2 separate regions of the Homo sapiens genome follow, and region 1 is linked to region 2. Evidence: promoter capture Hi-C in human tissues and cell types (Jung and others, 2019). All regions are on one chromosome and are shown on one strand. The core of a region is centred on a gene start or on the middle of the fragment in contact, and the rest is flanking DNA. Distances in the headings are between cores, read along the strand shown. Region 1 overlaps ATP12A (ATPase H+/K+ transporting non-gastric alpha2 subunit). Region 2 holds the start of RNF17 (ring finger protein 17).

Region 1 (7,105 bases), core at 3,624-6,123, 62 kb after region 2:
GATACGTGCAAATGAGGAAAACCTAATGCGCAGGTGTCTTGTATCTTATGTCTTCACATTTTTTGTTTTAAATCTTTGCATTTTAAATCTCTCTTTACTCACAACTACCACAGTGGCAAATGCTTCACCGGGCTCTCATGACAAAATGCAGAGAGCTGGGGTGAGCCTTTCGGGGAACATGTGGTGGGGGTCTCAAAGGAGGACAGGGGCCAGCCCACCTGAGAGGTTGGAGAGGTCAGGTGATGGGGATGAGCCAAGAACTCTCTCTTGAAGTTTCAAAGGCACCACAGCCTGATGTGAGATCCAGACCTCTGCACTTGCCCATGGACAGTGATGGGCCTGTCAGTCCTCTGGACACTGCTGTCCACCCACCTGCCTCTGACAGCCCTCCACAATGATCAGCTTCTGCTGGGGGGATGTCCGGGCAAAGACAATCTCCTGGTAGTTGGCTAAGATCTCATCCAGCTGTTCTGAGCTCATGTCCTTCAGCTCCATGCCAGTCACCACAGCGGCCTTGGCATCCCTAGAAGGGCCAGAAGAAACTGGGTGAGGCCCAAGGGCAGATCTTAGGTTGAAACACTGTTCCAGGCAGGATGCTGGCTGAAGCCTCTCTGACTTGACCTGGAACCCAGTGTCCTTGATACCTAATGCTCTAGTGAGGTAACAGGAGTCCTGGGAACACTTTAGTCTCCATTTCAAGAGGGCAAACTGAGGCTAAAATATAACACCATTTCTTGGTACCATATAACAATAGGAATAAAAAACCAGGTAGCCTTATCCCTACTAGAACAGGTGAGAGTGGTACTTCCTAGAGCAACGCTTTACTTCAGAAGTAAAAGGAAGTTAAAAAACTGCCCATTCATGGCCAAACGCAGTGGCTCATGCCTGTAATCCCAGCACTGTGGGAGGCTGAGTAGGAGGATCACTTGAGGCCAAGAGTTCAAGACCAGCCTGGGCAACATAGTGAGAGCCCCTGTCTCTACAAAAAATTTTAAAAAATTAGCCAGGTATGGTGGCATGTGCCTGTGGTCCCAGCTACTCAGCAGGCTGAGGCAGGAGGATTGCTTGAGCCTGGGGGGTTGAGGCTGCAGTGAGCCATGATCATGCCACTACACTCAAGCCTGGGTGACAAAGTGAGACCCTGTCTCAAAAACAAAAATAAAAATAAAACCCCCAAACTGCCTGTTCATATGTTTTGGGTCCTAGAATTCTTTTATGGCCAAACAAGGGGTAATAATTACTTGCCGTTGGGTATTTCAGATTTACAGAGTGTCATCTTTGTGCAATGTGCTACGTAGGCAGAAGTTTACTGAAGTCTTTGAGCAGCGCTATTGCCTGCTGACTATAAAAGTAAGGTTCTAGGGCCTATTGATTATGCAGAGCTGCCTGAGCCAGTCCCCTGCTAAAACTCTTCAGGGGCTTTCCACCGTGCTTGGAGCAGACCCCGGAATCCCTAACTTTAGCCAGCGAGCCCAGGTGGGGCCTGCGTTGTCAAGCTTCGCCTCACCTTGGGCTCTCCCTCCTGCCCGCTGGATGCTCTCAGTTCTGACATCCTCCATCCCCTGTACCCTAAGGCCTTCACGGGTCTCGCTCCCTGACCAGGAATGGGCATCTCTCACCTCAGCTTCTCGTGGCTAACACTACATTTCAGCCTTCAAATCTCAGCTTAAACAATGTAGGTACAAACTGCTGCAGGTCTTTTTCTTTACAATTTGCAAGTTTTGAGCTTTCTAGGTCTGTTTTACCTCTTGGTGCTAAATACTGGAATTCTAGCACTTGACTCAAACTACAGGTCTCCTTAACCGCTGGCAAAAAAACAAAACAAAACAAAACAAAAGAAAGTAAGAGAAGAAAGAAGGGGTGTTTCCTTTCCCCTTACACCTGCTAAGATGCAATTTTTATATGGTCATGAAACTAGAGCTGATGAAGTGAATAACTGAAAACATTCACAAAAGCATCCACTTCACTCAGTGTGGTGATTTGTATACAAATGTGTAATCCACTCTTCCCTTTTGTGGCCATGAGCAGAGTGGCAGTGACCAAGAGGAAGTGCAGTCCCTTTGTGACTTTTGACTGAGGCAAGAATCATAAAAGTCATTTCAATGCACCTTCCCACATTCGTAGGAAGATTATGTCTTTCTCTCGTTCCAAAGAGCTGAGACAGAAGCACATTCTGGAGTCTGCTACAAGCACAGTTCCATCCATGCCCATCTGAAAGGATGAGGAAGTTGAGGTTGCACAAAGACACTATACGGGCCAGCAAATTGGCAAAGCAGTCCAGGTTTATAGGAAGAAATGTGCCACCTATACTGAACAGGAGCACAGGAGGAGGCTAAGGGCAGGACCGTCGTGTGCACGTCACCAGCACATGGCCATCACCAGGCTAAAACTAGACAAAGACCACAAAAGATCCTTGAATGGAAGGCCAAACAAATCTTCCTAAGTAGGGAAGGAAGGGCAAATATAAAAAAGAAGCAATTGAGAAGATGCAGGAATAAGGTATCTTATATACAACTTTCATTAAAAATTGCTAAAATGGGCCAGGCGCAGTGGCTTACGCCTGTAATCTCTACACTCTGGGAAGCCAAGGCGAGCAGAACCCTTGCAGTCAGGAGTTAAAGACCAGCCTGGCCAACATCGTGAAACCCCGTCTCTACTAAAAGTACAAAAACTAGCCGGGTGTGGTGGCACATGCCTGTAACCCCAGCTACTCAGGAGGCTGAGGCAGGAGAATTGCTTGAACCCAGGAGGTGGAGGCTGCAATGAGATTTCACCACTGCACTCCACACTCCAGCCTAGGCAACAGAGAAAGACTCCATCTCAAAAAAAAAAAAATCTGCTAAAATTTTAAATTAAAGTCCCAGCTACTTGGGAGGCTGAGAGGGGAGGATCCCTTGAACCCAGGAGGTGGAGGCTGCAATGAGATTTCACCACTGCACTCCACACTCCAGCCTAGGCAACAGAGAAAGACTCCATCTCAAAAAAAAAAAAATCTGCTAAAATGAAGCTGGGTGCAGTGACACAAGCCTGTAGTCCCAGCTACTTGGGAGGCTGAGAGGGGAGGATCCCTTGAACCCAGGAGGTCGAGGCTGCAGTGAGCTATGATCACACCATTGCACTCCAGCCTGGGTGATCTGACAGGACACCTTGTATCTAAAAAAAGAAGACTCGGCTGGTCTGAAGGTAGTAGTGAATTAGCTCAACTGATTGTTCACAGTCAGTTACAGATCAAACTTCTACTCTTTCCCCTCTTCTCACTACTGCACTTGACTACTCTTAAAAAAATTTCTTTTAGTCCAGGTGTGGTGGCTCACGCCTGTAAGCCCAGCACTTTGGGAGGCTAAGGTGGGTGGATCACTTGAGGTCAGGAGTTTGAGACCAGCCTGGCCAACATGGCAAAGCCCCGTCTCTACTAAAAATACAAAATTAGCCAGGCATGGTGGCGGGCGCCTGTAATCCCAGCTATTCAGGAGGCTGAGGCAGGAGAATCGCTTGAACCCAGGAGGTGGAGATTGCAGTGAGCTGAGATCACACCACTGCATTACAGCGTGGGTGACAGAGAGAGACTCTGTCTAAATAAACAAACAAACAAACAAACAAAATTTGTTTAAAATTCTAAAGTGAAAAAAAGTATAATCCGATTATCTTACAAAACCAAACAAATAAACAAGCCCCAAAGTTGTTTTCATAGAGGGATGTTATGTATACTAAAGGGCACTGCAAGACTCTTAGACTTCAGGTACTGCTGCTGTGCCCAGAGGCGGGAACCCTGGTTGGTTGTCTAACGTGGTAATTTGTTATGACCTGACAGCTGTGTGTCCCTAAAAGACCTAAGTGCTTGGGGAAACTGAAGAGGTGCATTGGTCTTTCCCTCATCTCCCGCATGCGTGAAAACATAACCCAGCTAATGAACATTACTTCTCAACCTGAGAATTCGGAGTCTTTGACTCATGGAGACCAGGCACAGTCCAGGCCACTCTCCTGCATGCCCAGCTCCCTAGCCTTGTGTGGCTCCCTCATTACACTGGCCACATCATTGTTAGCTTTGTTTGTGTCTCCTTGGCTCGATGGAAAGATTCCCCAACGGTGTGGATAGTATTGTTCAGTTTGCTACTGTAGTTCCAGGTCTTGCCTGGTATATAGTTGGCACGCAGTAAATACTTGTTGAAAGAACAAATACATGAGTGAATGTACAGTTGGATGAACATGATTAAAAGAATAAGGATAAACATGATTAAAAGAATTAGGAGAAACAAGGAAAAAAACTTTCCTTAGGAAGCTTCCATTCTATCTATTACCAAATAAAAAAGAAGGGTGTGTTTACATAGCTACACGTTATGAAACCGGGTGGATAAATACCCAAGATGCTTACCAAGGAGGGTGCATGAAACAACCCACAGGGTTCTTACGATTCCAAATTATGCAACTGCATCTATGGCAAGTAATTTCACATAAACCCTTTGTTTCAGTTTTTCTTATTCTAAATTGGGCACATAGGTTTTGTGCCCAGGGCACACTGGATTTTGAAATTTCAAACAAGGAACACATAAAGGGTCATTTCATGGTATCAATACTGTGCCTGGCACATATTAGCTGCTCAGTGAAATTAGAGTGAATACATGGATATGCAAATAATAGCTCAAACAAGCCTAGCATAACTCTGAGAGCAAAAAGCTGATTTGTTCCAAGTAGTGCAGCTCTTTAGAGCCAGTGGGGCCCCATGGGTATAAACTGGAATTTTTACTATGCTGCTCCTGTGCTTACCGTTTGTTAACTTGCTCCACAGCAATGTTGAGGCGATGTGCAATGTCTTCCACTGTTTCACTGTTGGCTGAAATGATCCCCACACTCTTGGCAATAGCTTTGGCTGTGATGGGATGATCACCAGTAACCATAATAACCTAGAGCAAAGACAACGAGAAGGCCCACGGGTAATGAAGAACTCGGTTGGCCAAAGTGGGGATGGTTCAGTAATACCTACTCTGTAGTGCCCTGGGAGAACGTGGTTGGTGATTACAGTGGCAGCTCTGGATCTACGAGACAACTGTCTTTGGAGGAAACACTAATCCCATTGGGTCTACCCTTGCTCCTAAGCTTCATACGCTTCCTCCTCTGACATGAAAGGAAGCCCTTCCCCTTTGATGCCACTTTATTTGTGAAAGGGCTGGTGAGTGTCTACTTGGGGGTAGCCCCATGTTACTTCAACAGTCTTAATATTAACCTAGTAATGATGAACATGGATTATGGGGGCTGAGCCTCAAGACTGAGTAATAAAGCCTTTTTTCTTTCTTTTTTTCTTTTCTTTTCTTTCTTTCTTTTTTTTTTTTTTTTTTTGAGACAGAGTTTCACTCTTGTTGCCCAAGCTGGAGTGCAATGGTGTGATCTCGGCTCACTGCAACCTCTGCCTCCTGGATTCAAGAGATTCTCCTGCCTCAGCCTCCCGAGTAGCTGGGATTACAGGTGTGTGCCACCACATCTGGCTAATTTTTTTGTATTTTTAGTAGAAACGGGGTTTCACCATGTTGGCCATGGCTGGTCTGGAACTCCTGACCTCAGATGATCCGCCTGCCTCAGCTTCCCAAAGTGCTGGGATTTCAGGCATGAGCCACTGCGCCCAGCCAATAAAGCCTTTTAGTATCTACCATGGACTAGGGCGAGATATGGTCACTTCAAGGCACTAGGAGATTCTTCTCATTGCATTTACTGTTTATGTGGTTCATTCCACATAGACACAATCATTTTCTTTTTGTGGGACAGTTTCAGTAACCTTAGCACAGTGAAACTAGAAATAAAATAGGAATTATGATATTTACTTGAAGACACCTAAATACTGACCATCTGCTATGAAAACCATTATTAGAAAGGAACACGACATAAAGAAAGAACTTCTTGAGTCAGGAAAATAACTCCCACCTTGATCCCTGCACTCCGGCATTTGGTGACTGCATCTGGCACGGTGGACCGAGGGGGATCGATCATTGACAAGAGTCCCACAAAACAGAGGTTGGAGGTCGGAAAGTTCATAGCGTCTATGTCAAATGAGTAGGTTTCTGGAAACTCGTCTGCTGGCAGGTAGAGATGACAGAAACCTGTAATACAGATGAATTAGTGAGTCAGTGAAACTAGAATAGGAAACGAAAAAAAATAAGAGGAGAACATGCTCATACACCTTGGTCCTCTGCTGTTTTACCAATACATTAGAATAAGCCAGAATTGTTTAATTTCTTCAACTCCATAATGCATTTTTTTAGGAAAGACATATTTCATCCAAATATAATTCACTGTGAGCTCATTAGGCTCTGTGTTCTAGAAATATATCTTGCTATATTGCCAAGTTCTAGGGCAATACACAGTCTCGACTTCTGAAGTTTAGCGGGGCACAGAGTTAAAGGGATCAAGCATAGGGTACATCTCAGGGCAGAGACACATTTCAGCTGCCTGGAGGATTAGGAGAGACTTCCCCAAGGAGGTCACATGTGAGGTGAAGCTTGAGAGGGGCAAAGATGATTTCTAGGGAAAAAAGGGAGGGTGGAGGTGGGAAGGCCATTTTCAGCAGAGAAAACAGCATGTGAAGGAACAAGGGGGTTCAGCGGAGGGGCACAAAGTTCAGTGCTAGATCAAGATAAGCCCAAGAGAAAGGCCAGCAGGAATGGGGCCGAGCCATCCTTTTCTCAGAAGGCATCAGCCTCTCATAGGCTGAGGTGGAAGGGACTCTTGTGTCTGGTGGGACCTCCAAGATTGTGTGATCAGCTTTCACATCCAATTTATTTTCAGCCTGGCCCACTGCTTTGCAAATGTCAATGGAGCAGGCTTTGAGAAATCAAACGCAAGTGGGCATCGATCCCGTGTAGAATACCCGGTACTGTGGGTTATTGGATGCCTAAAGCATCACCATCTCATTTATATGCTTTATCTGATTTGCCAACTCCAATAGCCTTTAGAAACACACATTCCACAGACTGCATCTGTATTGGTGAGGACTTCCATGGTGTTTAATGAGCCGGATCGTCAACCATACACTTCTGTTTCCTTGAATTTGTCATTCTGTGGTCCTGATGGGGCACCATTCCGCCAGCCCTGGTGCTGACAACAGGACACACTGTCC
Region 2 (7,004 bases), core at 3,581-6,080:
AAAAAAAGGGAAGAGGTTAGGAATTTCCCACAAAATAGGCAGCTACTAATATGTAATTTTTTGTTATAATTTAAACTTTCATTAATTACAATATATGGTTTGGGTTTTTTTTAACCATATTTAACTTGCAAGGCAGTTCATTCAAACCTAAATAATGAAGGGTTATTTTAGTAGTCTGGAAGCTTACGGAGAACTGTTACATAATTCAGATTTGATTCTTAGCAATCCTAGGAGATAAGACAAAGCAGGTATTATATCCATCTCACAAATGAGGAAACCCAGGCTAGACTGACAGAATGAGAACTGCATTCTAGATCTCATGCCTCCATAGGGTTTGCCACACTTCCACAGAAAACAAATGATACAAAGCCTTATCATCTGATTTATCCAGTAAAACATCAAGAATTTACAGCTTGGCCAGGCGCGGTGGCTCATGCCTGTAATCCCAGCACTTTGGGAGGCCGAGGTGGGCGGATCACGAGGTGAGGAGATCGAGACCATCCTGGCTAATATGGTGAAACCCCCTCTCTATTAAAAATACAAAAAATTAGTCGGGCGTGGTGGCACAGACCTACAGTCCCAGCTACTTGGGAGGCTGAGGCAGGAAAATCACTTGGACCTGGGAGGCGGAGGTTGCAGTGAGCTGAGATTGAGTCACTGCACTCCAGCCTGGGGGACACAGTGAGACTCCGTCTCAAAAAAAAAAAAAAAGGAATTTACAGCTTGAGTCAACTTTCCAGGAACAATATTATATAAGCTGAACTACACTTATATTTGTATTAAATGAATAGGATATCAAGTAAATTTTATTTTACATCCTTAATTTGTTCTCATTCTTATGGAAAGATTTCAGTCTTAATGGCTTCTGAAGTAAAAATTTTAGGCAGTAGTTTTGCTTCTCTACCTTGTTGTAGAATGGCATCTCCCAAATGTACATTTGATGACACACAAAGGTTGAGGGGCAGGGGGGGAGTTCAAAATGTGGTTGCATGGATTGGTGGGTAAAACAGGGGCTAGGGTTTTTAAAGGAATATACACCATTAAAATAAACAAAAGACATAATTTTCCACAGAAGTCACCAAAGAATCAAAATATGTAGGCCGATAAGTGTATGACTTTAGCGCCTTTTATTTTTCCTGATCACTTTACACAATTATAAAATGGATAGAAAAAGTTTTATCTTTTGTTAGGTTTCTTTGCTTAAAGATTCAGCAGCAAAAATGCAAGATTTTAGGGTTTTTTTTTTTTTTTTGAGATGGAGTCTTGCTCTGTCGCCAGACTGGAGTGCAGTGGTGCAATCTTGGCTCACTGCAGCCTCCACCTCCCAGGTTCAAGCGATTCTCCTGCTTCAGGCTACCGAGCAGCTGGGACTACAGGTGTGCACCACTAGGTCCAGCAAATTTTTGTATTTTTAGTAGAGACGGGGTTTCCCCATGTTGGCCAAGGTGGTCTTGATCTCTTGATCTCGTGATCTGCCCGCCTCAGCCTCCAAAAGTGCTGGGATTACAGGCGTCAGCCACCACGCCCGGCCAACTTTTTAGTTTCTAACTAGAAGTACGTTTTACTACTGTAGTATTTTTACCATTAACATTAGGTTGTGATATGTTTCATCTGAAAAATTATAACACTTACCTCACAATCAGGGCATATAATTGTGGTGCATTCTTCAGTCATTAACAAGCATAGTTCACAAAAAGCATGTCCACATTGAAGTTCACAATGGTGACCTATTGATGAAATTCTTAATTATTATTTTGATGATGATGATGATTATTGAGACAGGGTCTTGCTCTGTTGCCCAAGCTGGAGTGTAGTGGCACCAGCTCACTGCAGCCTCCACCTCTTGGGCTCAAGTGATCCTCCTACCTCAGCCTCCCAAGTAGCTGGGACTATAGGTGTGTCCCAACACACCCGGCTAATTTTACTGAAGAAATTCTATTGTGATTAAACTGCCCACAGTGTGTTAATGTTGAATGGGCAATACTGATACAAGGGAAATTCAAAGAGGATCCTACTGTACAGGAAAAGATACCTACTACAGTTTGAAATGGTTGACTTATTGAATATAAATCAGGAGTAACCAACTATTCAGGTCAGGAGGGAGAAAAATCAAGAAGAAAAACCAAGAAGAGCTATGTAATAGCATTTGCATTAATTCAGATGGCTATTTTGTACCTAGAATACTTTGAATCTGCCATATCTTACACAAAGTGCTCTGACACATTTTATTTGTTATTTGTAAATATCACAGTTAAGTGGGCTGGAGATGAAATAGCATTTTGGAGATTTGGTTAACTAAATGGTATAATCCAGACTCCTATCTAGCTCTGTTTCCAAGTCTAACATTCTTTCTGATTGATCATACTGCCCTCTACTACTTTATATTTCCCATCCTGTGAAGAGGTCAGGAAGGGCCAAAATGAGACACTGGCAAGACCGTGCTGTTAGAATTATTTAAGACACTGGCAAGGCCAGAAGCCAGATGCTACTATTATCACATATCTACAACTCACATTTTCACAAACTTAGCATTTATGAAAGGAAATATCGTAACTTGATTGAAAACCTAACATCATGATTAAATGCTCTAAGAATTTGAAGTTTATAATAAATAACATTTGTTTTAGCTATATAATTTCAAAAGGTTGTCATTTTTAAAGTTTTGCAAGAAAACTGAAAAGGGAAAAAAACTAGATAAAAATCAGTCATCTTTTACTAGCAAAATAATTATAGAGTTCTTGCTGAATTATAATCGCATTAATTTTATTTATTTATTTATTCATCCATTCATTCACTCATTCTGAGACGGACCACGATCTCGGTTCACTGCCAACTCTGCCTCCTGAGTTCATGCTATTCTCCTGCCTCGGCCTCCGGAGTAGCTGAGATTACAGGTGTGCGTCAGCACGCCTAGCTAATTTTTTTGTATTTTTAGTAGAGATGGGATTTCACCATGTTGCCTAGGCTGGTCTTGATCTCCCGACCTCAAGTGATCCGCCCACCTCGGCCTCCCAAAGTGCTGGGACTATAGGCGTGAGCCACTGTGCCCGGCCTTGCATTAATTGTATTTTTTAAAAACTTTACAAGTTTCCTATCCAACTGAAATACCTGAAACTTGCTTACAACCATGCTAAATTTTAAAACCCTATTTAACTTCCAGGGATAATATTGCCAAAGAAATAAAAACACTTAACTATTATAAAATTTCTGATACTGAATAACTCAAAATAACTTGTGGTGAATTACAGCTTAAAAAGCACTTTCAGGATTCTATATACATAACCACTACTTCTCCAGTTTAGTTTTTCTAAGCATTATAATACTAATGTATGGAAGAAGTACTCATTTTAAAAGGTTGTGTTCTAGAACTTTATTCCGTAATTTTAATTTCATTCAAAAATGGAAATTTTCTACGTAACGGTAGCAGTGATCTAAACCCCAAGTAGGAGAAACTTGGTTCTCCACTGAAATCACAACTTTTTCTGCAGAGGCTCACATCTCACAGAGTCCATCTTGCCAAGACTGAGAAAACTGATCGAATGACCTTAACTTTGAAAGTATAAACATTAAACAGTTACGCCAGGTAATACGAATTTTCAGTAGCTCCAGGAATTGAGATTCAACAACTCAGCTGTATTAAGAGCACACTAAGGTATTTTAAGTTACATTAAAATAACTTGAACCGGCCGGGCGCGGTGGCTCACGCCTGTAATCCCAGCACTTTGGGAGGCCAAGACGGGCGGATCACGAGGTCAGGAGATCGAGACCATCCTGGCTAACACGGTGAAACCCTGTCTCTACTAAATATACAAAAAATTAGCCGGGCGTGGTGGCGGGCGCCTGTAGTCCCAGCTACTCCAGAGGCTGAGACAGGAGAATGGCGTGAACCTGGGAGGCGGAGCTTGCAGTGAGCCGAGATCGCGCCACTGCACTCCAGCCTGGGCTACAGAGCGAGACTCCAACTCAAAGAAAAAAATAATAATAAATAACTTGAACCTGTGATCACTTGAGTAGATTGTAGGTGAACAGACCAATAATAGTGCAGTGTATTTTTCCCCTCACGTATAAAGACCAACACACACACACACACACACACACACACACACACACCCCACAAGGTGCACAAAAGAAACTATCATTTTCCAAACAGTGTTTTAGGCCAGTGTGAGCCATAATGTAAAAAACAAACAAAAAAACCCCCACAGAAACAACAAAATGCTAACAACAACAACAAAATCCAAAACCATTTCACAATGGTCTACTTGTTACTCCTACAACAAAAACTACAGGAGAAAATCAAGTTTCGTTCCTTCTTGATGACAAAACAATGGGCTACATTTTATGTCTACTTTTGCATGCACCCGCTAACCTGCCTTGTGAGGAGTAGATTAAAGCCACCCGGGCCCCCATCCTCCCGGCTGGAGGGTCGGTGAGGCCTGGATGGGTAATTGGAGAAAGCCGTGACAGGCGCAGGTGCTGCCCTTAACCAACCCAAGCACTGCCCTCTTAGAGGTCGGGTGCAGCTCGCGGGAGGCCTGTGACGCAGTTTCTGGTGACACCAGGATTGGATGCAGCTGACCAAGCCTCACGCGCCCACCAGCTCACCTGGCCCCCAGCGCTCCCTCCAGGCTGCCTCCCCGCTAGGTGGGCCCTTGGGCTCCTCACCGGATGATCTGGATACCCTCCTTCCACACCTGGTGCACTGGATTTCAGCGGCACCCCAGGGCTGACTCTTCCTCCCCATTCGCTGGTAGGAAGACCTAGAAGGCCCAGTCTTCGAAGCCTCTGCCGCCATCGCTGTCTCTTTCTTCTGGAACAACCGCCGAGTGCGAGTCCCGGCGGCCCTCGCGGCAGCGACCAATCATTGGAGGCCAGCCCCTGCAGATAGCCAAACAGTGGGCCGGGAGATTAAAGCCCGCCCCCAAGCTCGCTCCTGATGGGGCTGGGGCTGTTTTCCGTTATCCTGGGAGGTACCACTCCTAGAAGGGGCGCCTTGTGGCCGTTGAGGACCGTTCGTTTTTACGTTCTACCCAAAGAGTCACCACTTTAGTGCTTTTAGTCATCACAAATTAAAATTTCGCATATTATTACTTACATTGTGAGTGACTTTATAGATAATCATTTGGATTGAAACAATCCCCTTTCCCTATTACGTGTCAGGGCCAGAAGCCCTAAACCTGTGTGCTTCGGGCATCCAGGGCTTGGCCAATAGCAGCTGGAGTGGAGAAGCTAATGAGAAGCTATCGTTGGGGTAGATTCAGTGAACGCTTTCGAATTAAGGAGTGTTCATCATTACTAACTGCTGTTGAGCCTAATAATATACAAGGCAGCGTGCCAAGAGTGGTTGGGGATGCTAAGAATTTATGAACTAGCAGGTTTCTGCTTGAGAGATACATAACTCCTTAAAAAAACCCAGTAACTTCCGCCAAAATAAGTGTTATGTACCGGACCTGTGTTAGAGACAGTAAGAATTAGCCTTCTGGGCCCGGCGCGGTGGCTCACGCCTGTAATGCCAGCACTTTGGGAGGCCAGGGCGGGCAGATCACGAGGTCAGGAGATCGAGACCATCCTGGCTAACATGGTGAAACCCTGTCTCTACTAAAAATACAAAAAAAAAAAAAAAAAAAAATTAGCCGGACGTGGCGGTGGGCGCCTGTAGTTCCAGCTACTTGGGAGGCTGAGGCAGGAGAATGGCGTGAACCTGGGAGGCGGAGCTTGCAGTGAGCCGAGATCATACCACTGCACTCCAGTCTGGGCGACAGAGCGAGACTGCGTCTCAAAAAAAAAAAAAAAAGAGTTGAAGCAACTTGTCCAAGCATAGTTCACAAAAAGCAATGAAGAAATGAAGTCAATATGGTCTACGGTGGTATGAAAACTCTTCGTAGAGGATATAGGGTTTGCACTAGACCTTACAACCTAGGTAGTACTTACAGGAGTAAACAAGAACTAAGGGATTCCAAGAATAAAGAACACATCAGCGAGGGAAGGTAGATGTGAGGGAAGGTAGATGGAAGACACAGTGACTTCTTGAGAATTTAAAGACCATTTAGCCAGAGTATGAGTTTCCTTAAAGTAAGCTTCTTTGGAGAGGTGTGTCAGGGAAGAATTTCGGAGAATCTCGAGTGTAAGGCTGAGGAGTTTGGACTTTACTCTTTAAGCAGTAGAGTGCATGAGACGTTTTGTGAGCAAGGAATGAAGTAATCTAGTAGAAAGGTGGCAGGTGTATTTCAAACAAAACACCTGGAGGTGGCACGGTTGCCTTTTGCTGCTAAGAATAAAGCCTGCCCATATTCCTCATTTTCTTTTCTCTCTACACTGTGTGTGGGTAACTAGAAACTGTGAAGTAAGTATTCTCTTGAAAGGCTCACTTCGGCTCAAAAATCTTTGTAATTTGTTGTCTTCGAGAGAAAAGTACTGCTTCCCTAAATTACCCTCATTCTACTACTCATCCAATAGTTTCCACTACTAATCCATGATGGAACTGAGTACTAATCAAGCCAATATTCTCATGTAACATGTTGACTCTTCTACAGTTTTGTGAGTATTATTCCCTATTCCCCTCATCTGGAATACCTACTGTTCACTCTTCATCAATTCATATTCTCTTTTTTTTTTTTTTTTTTTTTTTTAGAAATGGAGTCTTGCTCTGTCGCCCAGGCTGGAGTGCAATGGCGAGATCTCAGCTCACTGCAACCTTGGTCTCCGGGTTCAAGCAATTCTCCTGTCTCAGCCTCCCCAGTAACTGGGACTACAGGCGCATGCCACCACGCCCAGCTGATTTTTTGTATTTTAGTATTGACTGGGTTTCACTGTGTTGCACAGGCTGCTCTCAAACTCCTGAGCTCAGGCAGTCTGCCCGCCTTAGGCCTCCCAAAGTGCTAGGATTACAGGCGTGAGCCACCGCGTCCGGCCCATATTCTCCTTATCCTTCCTGGATCAGCTTTAGAAGCACTTTCTCCTTTAAACCTTCACATTTCTCTCCACACTTAATGCTATTCTAGCAT

What was found. The method cuts DNA at HindIII sites, captures the fragments that hold promoters and counts their contacts. A contact is called where the count stands out against the background at its distance.
Region 1: a contact is called between a fragment that was not itself captured here and the fragment with the promoter of RNF17 in region 2, in 1 of the 25 tissues and cell types used here (adrenal gland).

Annotation. Positions count from the first base shown.
Region 1 is chr13:24,699,731-24,706,835 of GRCh38, reverse strand. It overlaps ATP12A (ATPase H+/K+ transporting non-gastric alpha2 subunit), which reads right to left. Exons shown (of 23, transcript NM_001676.7): 13 at 5,914-6,089; 14 at 4,765-4,901; 15 at 373-523. It also overlaps the pseudogene RNY1P7 and the pseudogene RPL26P34. Among named protein-coding and RNA genes, the nearest start is that of ATP12A, 23 kb to the right of the region's middle. The HindIII fragment of the contact is 3,970 bases long and covers 2,889-6,858 here.
Region 2 is chr13:24,761,995-24,768,998 of GRCh38, reverse strand. RNF17 (ring finger protein 17) reads right to left here and starts at 4,830. Exons shown (of 36, transcript NM_031277.3): 1 at 4,666-4,830; 2 at 1,633-1,727. The coding sequence starts at 4,795. The HindIII fragment of the contact is 17,753 bases long and covers 1-7,004 here.